Regions from separate parts of the Homo sapiens genome. Here all the other regions are linked to region 1. The links are contacts of gene promoters, found by promoter capture Hi-C in blood cells and fetal thymus (Javierre and others, 2016). All regions are on one chromosome and are shown on one strand. The core of a region is centred on a gene start or on the middle of the fragment in contact, and the rest is flanking DNA. Distances in the headings are between cores, read along the strand shown. Region 1 holds the start of LCORL (ligand dependent nuclear receptor corepressor like). Region 2 overlaps QDPR (quinoid dihydropteridine reductase). Region 3 overlaps LOC105374510 (a long non-coding RNA gene).

What was found. Contacts are between HindIII fragments. The CHiCAGO score rates a contact against its expected background, and 5 or more counts as called.
Region 2: a fragment that was not itself captured here is called in contact with the fragment with the promoter of LCORL in region 1 in 4 of 17 cell types (total CD4 T cells, naive CD8 T cells, non-activated CD4 T cells and 1 more); the score reaches 8.1 in total CD4 T cells.
Region 3: a fragment that was not itself captured here is called in contact with the fragment with the promoter of LCORL in region 1 in 10 of 17 cell types (naive B cells, naive CD8 T cells, endothelial precursors and 7 more); the score reaches 9.4 in naive B cells.

What each region holds. Positions count from the first base shown.
Region 1 is chr4:18,020,132-18,023,194 of GRCh38, forward strand. LCORL (ligand dependent nuclear receptor corepressor like) reads right to left here and starts at 1,624. Exons shown (of 8, transcript NM_001394446.1): 1 at 1,467-1,624. The coding sequence starts at 1,620. RefSeq lists silencers at 836-1,165, 1,486-1,945 and an enhancer at 1,996-2,255. The HindIII fragment of the contact is 12,000 bases long and covers 1-3,063 here.
Region 2 is chr4:17,499,539-17,502,789 of GRCh38, forward strand. QDPR (quinoid dihydropteridine reductase) reads right to left here. Exons shown (of 7, transcript NM_000320.3): 4 at 2,181-2,321. Among named protein-coding and RNA genes, the nearest start is that of QDPR, 11 kb to the right of the region's middle. The HindIII fragment of the contact is 6,470 bases long and covers 1-3,251 here.
Region 3 is chr4:18,591,843-18,594,639 of GRCh38, forward strand. The region is part of intron 1 of LOC105374510 (a long non-coding RNA gene); the gene reads left to right. Among named protein-coding and RNA genes, the nearest start is that of LCORL, 570 kb to the left of the region's middle. The HindIII fragment of the contact is 4,680 bases long and covers 1-2,797 here.

The sequences.
Region 1 (3,063 bases), core at 374-2,873:
TTTTCCTATATTCATCGCGTTCTGCGGTACACATTTCTGAACTGAAATTGTATTAAGTTTAACCTAATACGATCTCTTCTCTACTAGTCAAAAAAAGATCTTAAGACGTTAACCAAATACATGGGAGGCGGGGTCGGGGGTGCGAGGTGGTGCCAGAGCAGATGGAAACAAGGTAAGAGAGTTGTTTTCTTAAGACACTAGGGTTACTCCCCAACTCCAAATGCCAAGATTCACTCGCCAGTAGAGCAAGCTGCTGCCACTATCCACTGCTTACACAATACAACCTTCCTTTCTACCTCTTCCCCTACACTCCCACCCATAACCCCCTTCCAAAACAAACACCCACAACGCGCCCCATTCCATAATCCGTGTTCGCCCCTCTAAGCCCACTAAACCAACCTGCTGGATAACAGCTCTATGCATTCGTCTTAGGCAAAAAAAGAAAAAAAAAAAAGCGACTGCAGCAAGGTCGGGAGTCCCACCATTCCTGTCACCCTAAACAATCCACAGGGTGAGAGCCCCAAGCCCAGAAGTTTGAGGCAAAACGATTCAGATCCAACCAAAAAGAGGGAATTGCAGTTGAATGGGGATGGGAGGTGGGGAGGGCGATGCGTATGCGTGTATATGTGTGTGTGTGTGTAAGGAAGAGTCCATCACATGACAGTGAAAGAGGACCAGAGTCGTCGGGGCGTCCGCAAGCAGACGGGGGGGAGGGTGTCGTTGCCGTGGCAACACCCCCCATCCGTCCAGACTTCCAAAGAGGGAGGAAGAACTTCAAATCCCAACCGTCAGCGCTCAAGCGGCTCCTTCTTAAAGGGGTACACACAGCGCCGCCGCCGAGCGCGAGAGGGCAGAGTTGGGCGCCCCCCGCCCCTCGGACGACGCCCCCGCCGCCCCTCGCCCCCAGCCGGCCCATCAGCGGCCCCCGCCCTGCGAGTGCCCGTGGGTCTCCAGGTCCAGGTCCCCGGGAACTGGCCGCGTCTGCTCACCCGGCCCCCGGCGGCGACAAGGGGGTGTGTGTGCGCTCGGCGGGGGCGCGGACCAGCCCGCCTTCCTCCGGCCGCCCTGCCCGCCGGCTCTCCTCCGCCAGGGCGCCGACCCACCGGGCCGCTTCCTCCGTCCTGTCAGGGTGGACGGCGGGCGACGGCGGGCAGCGACGGGCGCCGAGGAGTTTCGGGGAGAGAGCGAGCGGGCGGCTTCCGCGGGGGCTCAGCAAGCGGGTCCAAACTAACAGTTCCCGGGGAGCCCAAGAGCTGGGAAGGCGAAGGAGCGCGGACCGCGCCGGGCCAGCAGCCCGCAAGACAAAAGGCGAGCGCCGGGGCCGCCGCGCCGCGCCGCTCCCATCTCGCTCCCCCACCGAACTAACCCGAACGGGAGATTCAACTAAACCCCTCAGCCACAAACTCCTCGGGCTGCGACAGCGGTCGCCGCGCGGAGCCCGGGGCCCCGGCCCGCGTCTCTCTTACCTACACAGTGCATGAGGCGGTGGCGCCAAGAGTCGAGTTCCCGCCGGAATCCTCTTCTCTCCGCCGCGCACCGAGGGCTCCGGCACTGAGCGGCGGCGGCGGCGGCGGCAGCAGCGGCGGCGGCAGCGGCCATTCTCTCTCTTCCCTTGTCCATCTGCGTCCCGCGTCACGCGCCCTCATTTACATACGAGCAGCGCAGGCACGAGGCAGGGGCGCGAGCCCTCGGCGCGAGCCCCGGAGCGCGCGCCCCCCGGAGGGGGGTTGATTGACACGTGTCACTACCTTCCCTCTGCCCTGCCCTCCCCCTCCCACCGCTCCCTCAGGGAGAGGCGGGGAGGGAGCCAGAGGAGAAGGAAGCAACCTGCCGCTTCCGCTGACCCCGCCTCCCCACCCACTACCCTCCTCCCCCTCCCGCTGGAGTTTACTCAGGCGAGCCATACCGCTCCCGCCGCCCGCGAAAACCCTGAGCGGGAGCGAGAGACCCGGAGCCCAGCCAGGAACCGGCGTGCTAGTGGAGCGGACTAGCAACGCCTACTTTCTGCCTTCACTACGGGACTCCGACAGTCCGGAGACTTCACTTCCCAGGCTCCATTTCGCCAGGATCCCGAAGCTGAACTTGGCGCCGTGGCGCGTTGCTTGCCGGTCATTGTAGTCCAGAAGAAAGGATTTTTTTTGTTTGTTTGTTTTTCTTCCCCCCCGCACTTGGGTATGCAGGCTGGCCTGCAACTTCTCTGCGCCGCGCCGCTGGGGGGCTGAGTCTGTCGCTCCCTGCGCCCGGAACCATGCGCTGCCCGGTGGCCGGGTCTGACCCGACTGCTTTAGCTTCCTTAGGCTCCGCGATAGAAGGGTGGTGGAAGCCGCAAGAGTTGTCGGCTCCTTGTGGGTTCAGGCTGCGCTTTGCGTTTTAAGTGCTGGAAACTTTCCGGGGTCGCTGTCTTCCTGTCACTCCGCAGGGAAAGGGCAAGCCGGTCATTCGGCTACATCTGGAATAACTGCCAAACGTCCAGAGAGAGATCCCGGAGTGACTTCGGTATTCAAGGCGAAGAGATCTCGGAAAGCCAGAATATTTGCAAGGACTAGGAAAAAGATGCGGGTTTTTTTCACTGAAAATTACTTGCAGGGGACTGGGTGTAGCCGGCTGAAAACTGCAGAAGGAAAATTTTCTTTATAAGCTCCTGGAGGGCAGCGACCCACTGAGATCTCTGTACCGTGACATCTGTCACTCGCTAGACCCTAGTACAGTGCGTGACACGGGATTAAGCACTTTACAAAGGTTAATGGAATGAATTCTACCACGTGCTAGAGAAAATAACTTCTTCAGAGAGAGCTAGAGAGGAATCTTACGTTTAAATACAGACTCCAATCACAGTTTTTACTTTTGCACCAGAGCGATTGTGCGTTTGTTTCCGTATAAGTGCAGTTTATCAAGCCGAAGCTAAGCTACCCAACGTTTGCTAAGAAGTACTGTGTATTTCTGGAAATTTATTCACAAGTCTGTGGGAAATATGTTTAATTCTTCTTGGAAATCTCATAAACTCTGAATTCAGTACCACCTTCCCTGTTTTGTGGCTTATCCTTATCCACCTTCTTTTTCTTC
Region 2 (3,251 bases), core at 177-2,676, 520 kb before region 1:
CATCACATGCTCTAAGAAATGGAAGAAGAAAATGAGAGGGAAGGTATTGCTAGTAGTCACAGCCTCACAGTTCAGTGAGTTACATTAAAATTGAGAAGGGGCCTGGCGTAGTGGCTCATGCCAGTAGTCTCAGTGCTCCGGGAGGCCAAGGCAGGAGCATCACCTGAAGCCAGGAATTTGAGACCAGCCTGGGCATCATAGCGAGACCCTGCTTCTACAAAAAATACAAAAATTAGCCAGGCATGGCAGTGTGTGTCTGCAGTCCCAGCTACTCAGGAGGCCGAGGCAAAGGATTGCTTGAGCCCAGGAGTTCCAAGCTACAGTGAGCTAGATCATACCACTACATTCCAGCCTGGGTGAGACCCTGTCTCTAAAAAAATAAACAACTGAGAAGGGTCCCAAGGTCTCTACCACTTACAAGAGAGTCAAAAAGAGCTCCCCCCACCTTTTTTTTTTTTCTTTTGAGAGGGAGTCTTGCTCTGTTGCCCAGGCTGGAGTGCAGTGGCGCGATCTCGGCTCACTGCAAGCTCCACCTCCTGGGTTCACGCCATTCTCCTGCTTCAGCCACCATCACGCCTGGCTAATTTTTTGTATTTTTAGTAGGGACAGGGTTTCATCGTGTTAGCCAGGGTGGTCTCAATCTCCACCTCATGATCCACCCGCCTTGGCCTCCCAAAGTTCTGGGATTACAGGTGTGAGCCACTGCACCCGGCCAAAAGCTCCCATTTTTTTAAAAGAAGAGTTCAACTTAGGTAGTTGAGGTAGACACTTTCTGCCTCCCTATGCTGCCCCTTTCTACCCCTGCTTAAATTCCTTTAGCCCTATCCCACAGGGAGTGTTATGGGCTGAAATAGATCCCCCCAACATTCGTATATTGAAGTCCTAATTCCCAGTACCTCAGAATGGGACTGTATTCGAAGATCTTTAAAGAGGCAACAAAGTTAAAATGAGCCCATTGAGATGGGCCCTAGTCCAATATGCCTGGTTTCCTTAGAAGAGGAGGAAACGAGGACAGACACACAGAGGGAAGACCACATGCAGACAAAAGGAGAAGGCAGCCATCTATAAAAAAAGAGGATTCAGAAGGAGCCAGCCCTGCAGATACCTTGATCTCCAGACTTTTAGCCTCCAGAGTTATGAGAAAATAAATCTCTGTTGTTTAGGCCACCCAGTCTGTGGCTACCCAAACAAACTAATACAGGTCATAAAAAATGCAAAAGAAATGACATAATGGAAAAAATACACAGTTGGTAGATGATTAGGGTTTTGGTTCAAGTAAGTCTGCAACTTACTTCCTGCACAAACCCAGACAAGTTACTTAACTCTCCAAGTTTTAGTTTCCTAACCTGTAAACTGAAAAAGATAATATTGATGAGATTAAAGTGAGAATATATGTGAAATGAAAAGAGTGACTATAAGACCTACCATTTATTGTGAATAACAGTAAGACTTGCCATTTATGGGTGCCTACCATGTGCACTTTCTACATAGCTACACCTCTACAGTTTTACAGTACTCTTCAAGTTAGATGTCACTGTCACTATTTTACAATTAAGGAAACTACAGTAGACATCTGGTCAGAGACTGAAGAACTGGTTCAGGGTCACACATCTAGGATAAAGAATCCACCCCCAACCCTCTCACTCTCTTTTTGTTTTCTAATGTAGAGATAGGGTCTCACTATGTTGCCCAGGCTGGTCTTGAACTCCTGGGCTCAAGCAATCCTCCTGCTTCAGCCTCCCAAAAGTGCTGGGATTACACGTGTGAGCCACTGTGCTGGCCAAATGAACCTCTCTCATTTTAAACTTATGCTATTTCCAGCTGCTAAGCTGCTTCCCTGGAACACATGGATTCAATGTGATAATAATAATCCATGTTTATTAATTAATTAATATCCACTAAACCATTCATTCCAGTGTAGATCACAGATAAATAAACTAAATGGGGGTTACCAGATCATAGCGTTCCTTACCACCACCATAAACATAAGGACAGGCAAACAAAAGATCAGAACTCTTCTCCCTAAAATGATTCAGGCCCAAAAGAAGACAAAATCCATCTATCTGTTAAGCAGCTTAGAGGGTAAAGGCTTTAACAGTCCTCATCCCATGAAAGTGCCCAGCAGCCCCAGCAAGCAAGGTAAGCAACCCCACTCCACAGATAGGGAAATAAAGGCTTACCAGGAGTCCCATCCAGGGCAGCCTTTGCGCCAGCCAAGGTCAGGAGGCCTCCTTCCTTGAGATGCTTGGTAGCCAGATGGCTGGAGATGGTCGATGTCCATATGCTCTGCTTCCACATCAGGTCACAGTTCTTAAAGAGAGCTGAGTGAAAAAAACATGTGGGCTCAGCATTCCCAGGAAAGAAACCAAAAGGTGAGCTCAACTCATGCAGCCCCACACTCAGGGAGGCCCTCCCTCCTGGTCCCCAGGTCCCTATCTACAGCAAGGTCTAACACAAACAGCACAGGGCTCAGTGGTCAGAGACACAGGTTCAAATCCAGGCCATGGGATTGCCTGAGGTTCAGCTTCCTTACCTATACACTGGCAAAATGTTGGCCAATAAATTTTACAAAATAAACCTGGAGTTTACTGATTTGCTGGACTGGCTTTAATTCAAAGATTGTTTTATTTTATGAATGGTATCAGATTTGTAATAAGAACCTATATGTCTACGTCAGGTTTTCTCTGTGATAAAAATCCAAGGGCCTATTACTGTACAGCTATAAAGAGAGCTTTTACTGAGCTACATATTTTATGTCTGAAAGTTTAATGTTAGCTTTAAAGACTCTTCAAAAGAAAGCTAAAATAACAACCATTTTACACTTGTTTTAACTCCCCGGCCTTGCCAGAGACATAAGGAAGAACAAATGGTAACATATGTCACACCACCAACTGGGCAACTCGAAGGGCATGTGGTACCTGGTGATCAAAAAAGGATGTCCTCCTGATATAGGAGGGGTTGGTAGGTGATAAACAAGAAATTGCATTTCCCCACTAAAAAAGACTAGGAAAAAAACCTGATGGATCCACATTTATCATTTCTTGCTCCCAAAACATACAAAAAGGTTATCAAGCTGTTTTGCTAACCTGATCACCTCACAAAGCACCACTCTCACATTGACATGTGGGTCACAGAATGTCAACGTCTTTTTAAATGGCTTTGGCTAATAAATGTAGAAGGGATGACAGAATTAGAAAACTACCATTTTCCAACCCCTGAATAAGTGCTTCAGGCAGAGATTATCAACGAAG
Region 3 (2,797 bases), core at 32-2,531, 570 kb after region 1:
GGTGCTAGCTGAAAATGCACTATTGTTCTATTATAGCACCATTAAAGGACAATGATGAAATAGAATACTTTGGCTGGGCAGAGTTTTAAACACCTGGTCATGAGCTTGGTGTGGTGGGAGATGTTGCCTGCTAAGATGCAGGCATATGCACACATACACACACCCGTGCACACACTTCTGGGCAGTGGCAAATGGTTTGGGTGGAATAATGAAAGGATCACGAATGGAAAATCAGGGACAAGTTGCTAGTGGAAACAAGTGTGTAGATGAACCTATGACCATGAGCCTAGAGCATGTGGATCATTTATCTTAGGTAAATGCCTGCCAGAGAGCACCTCCTGTGAAGGAGGATTTGAACACCCAGGGGAAAGATGATTTCCCTTCTAATCTCAGCTGGGCTCTGTCCCTGGCCCCCTAAGTGCTCCTTGCTGCAGCCTTAAGGTGATCGGCAGTGCGGTTATGTGATAGTTTTCAAAACCATAAAAACAGTATTTCTTTTTATTGTATTAGTTTCTTTCTGGTCCAACCACTCTTTAACCATATTTAGTCTGTTGGTGTGGTGCTATGATGTCATTTTTAAATTAAAAGAAAACTAACCATACATTTTCTTAGTTAAGATCATACAGAGAGGAAATAAACCGTTAGGATCTGTCAAATTAATTACAATACATCCTTGCTATGGAATCTATGTTAAAAAGAGAGAGAGAGAGAAGAAAAAACGGGCTAGGTGCAGTGGTTCATGCCTGTAATCCCAGCACTTTCGGAAGCCAAGGTGGGTGGATTGCCACAGCTCAGGAGTTTGAGACTAGCCTGGGCAACATTGTGAAGCCCTGTCTCTACTAAAAATACAAAAAATTAGCGGGGTATGGTGGCACACACTTGAAATCCCAGCTGTCTGAGAGTCTGAGGCATGAGAATTTGCTTGAGCTCCTTGAGCCTGGAAGGCAGAGGTTGCAGTGAGCCGAGATCATGCCGCCGCACTGCAGCCTGGGCGATAGAATGAGACTCAGTCAAAAAAAAAAAAAAAAAAAAAAGCCTGCATGATTTTTTGTTTCTTTCTTGAAACTTCTCTACTTAAAAATTTAAAAATACATTTGAATAATAAAAAAATAATTTTTAATGGGAGAGAAATTATTTTGAATGTAAAATGAGTGTGATGGGGAGGAAAATTGTGGGTTTATGCATTAGATTGTTCAGATTCTGTGTATTTACTGTCTTTGGGAGCTGAAGTTAGTTTATTTTTTTTTTTACTTTACTTTCTTCCTGTGTAAAATGAAAATAATGACACCTATTATACACAATTACTTTAAGATTAAATGAGATAGTCCCTTTGGTGCACCTGATATATATAATCAAGATGAAATATTTTGAATGCATAGATTGGCAAGCAGGCTGCACTGTGGATTTATTGCTAGACAAATACAACTTGTGTCAATTTGAAGAAGTCACCAATAAAAATGAAAAATGCCAAACCAAATATTTCTTTGCTCCTTGTTGGAAAGTCACATAAAGAGACAAGATAATAAAACTTAAACTCAGGGACACGTTTTAAGTCCATGATTTGCCTGAAATTGTAGTTGTTAGTTGTGTTTTGCTTTCCTTCTTGTATGAAAGCACCTTTCTCTAAGTCCCTAGTGATATTTGTGCCAAACAAAATAATTGGCTCATTAGGCTGCTGTAGTATTGCCTCTCACTCGGCACCCATATCCTTCTAGTAAGCTGGAAAGAAGAAACAGAGCTCTCTATTCAGAGACCACACAGCTTGCTATCTTTTTTTGCACATCTCGAAGTCAAAGAGGACACAAAAGGATGTTTTTCTGAGCCAATTGGCAGCGCACTCTTATTCTGAACTGCTGGGGCTGGAAGTCTTTCAATGCATGGTAATACTGCCACCATGTGGTCAAACTGAGAAAACCTCGCCCAAATCCTTCAGTCGAAGAGGATTTTCCTTAACATTAATGGGACAGAAGCATTGCGCTTCTTCGACTGGGATTGTTTCACGATAGTCACAAACTATCGTGATTGTTTAGGTAAACGGTTGTCTCACATAAAGGGGCTGAGTGTACTTGATTGGGTGCTAACTGCTAATCCTCCCATTAGCGTGACTGTAACTTTAAATCATTGGTACTTTGAAGTTTCTGTTCTAGGAAATAAGGATGAGAATCTCCATGCTTCCCTATTTCATAAGGTAAGGGAGATACAGTAATATATGCATCGCAACTCTAGATGTAATGGTGTCATAAAATTTCGGGGAGAAAAGTGGGATTTGCTAACCAAAGTGCTGCTATTTGAATGCTGCCACTTTTTAGGGGTATGATCTGAAACAAGTTTTTTCATTTCCTTGGTCCATAGTTTATTGTTCTGAAGAAATGCTGTGAATATTACCTTTTTTTTTTTCTTTTGAGATGGAGTCTCGCTCTGTCGCCAAGCAGGAGTGCAGTGGTGCGATCTCGGCTCCCTGCAACCTCCACCTCCTGGGTTCAAGCCATTCTCCTGCCTCAGCCTCCCGAACAGCTGGGACTACAGGCACACGCCACCACGCCCAGCTAATTTTTGTATTTTTAGTAGAGACGGGGTTTCACCATGTTGGCCAGGATGGTCTCGATCTCTTGACCTTGTGATCCGCCCACCTCGGCCTCCCAACCATTTTTAACTAAGATATTATGTTGATTGTTTGCTGAAAAATTGCTTTTTTAAAATGTAAAATGCTACACCAATATTAGTTTGCATGATTATTATTTGAATACAGACTTAAGAATCTTTATGGCGAAAATTATGCTTGGCTGAATTAGAAGAT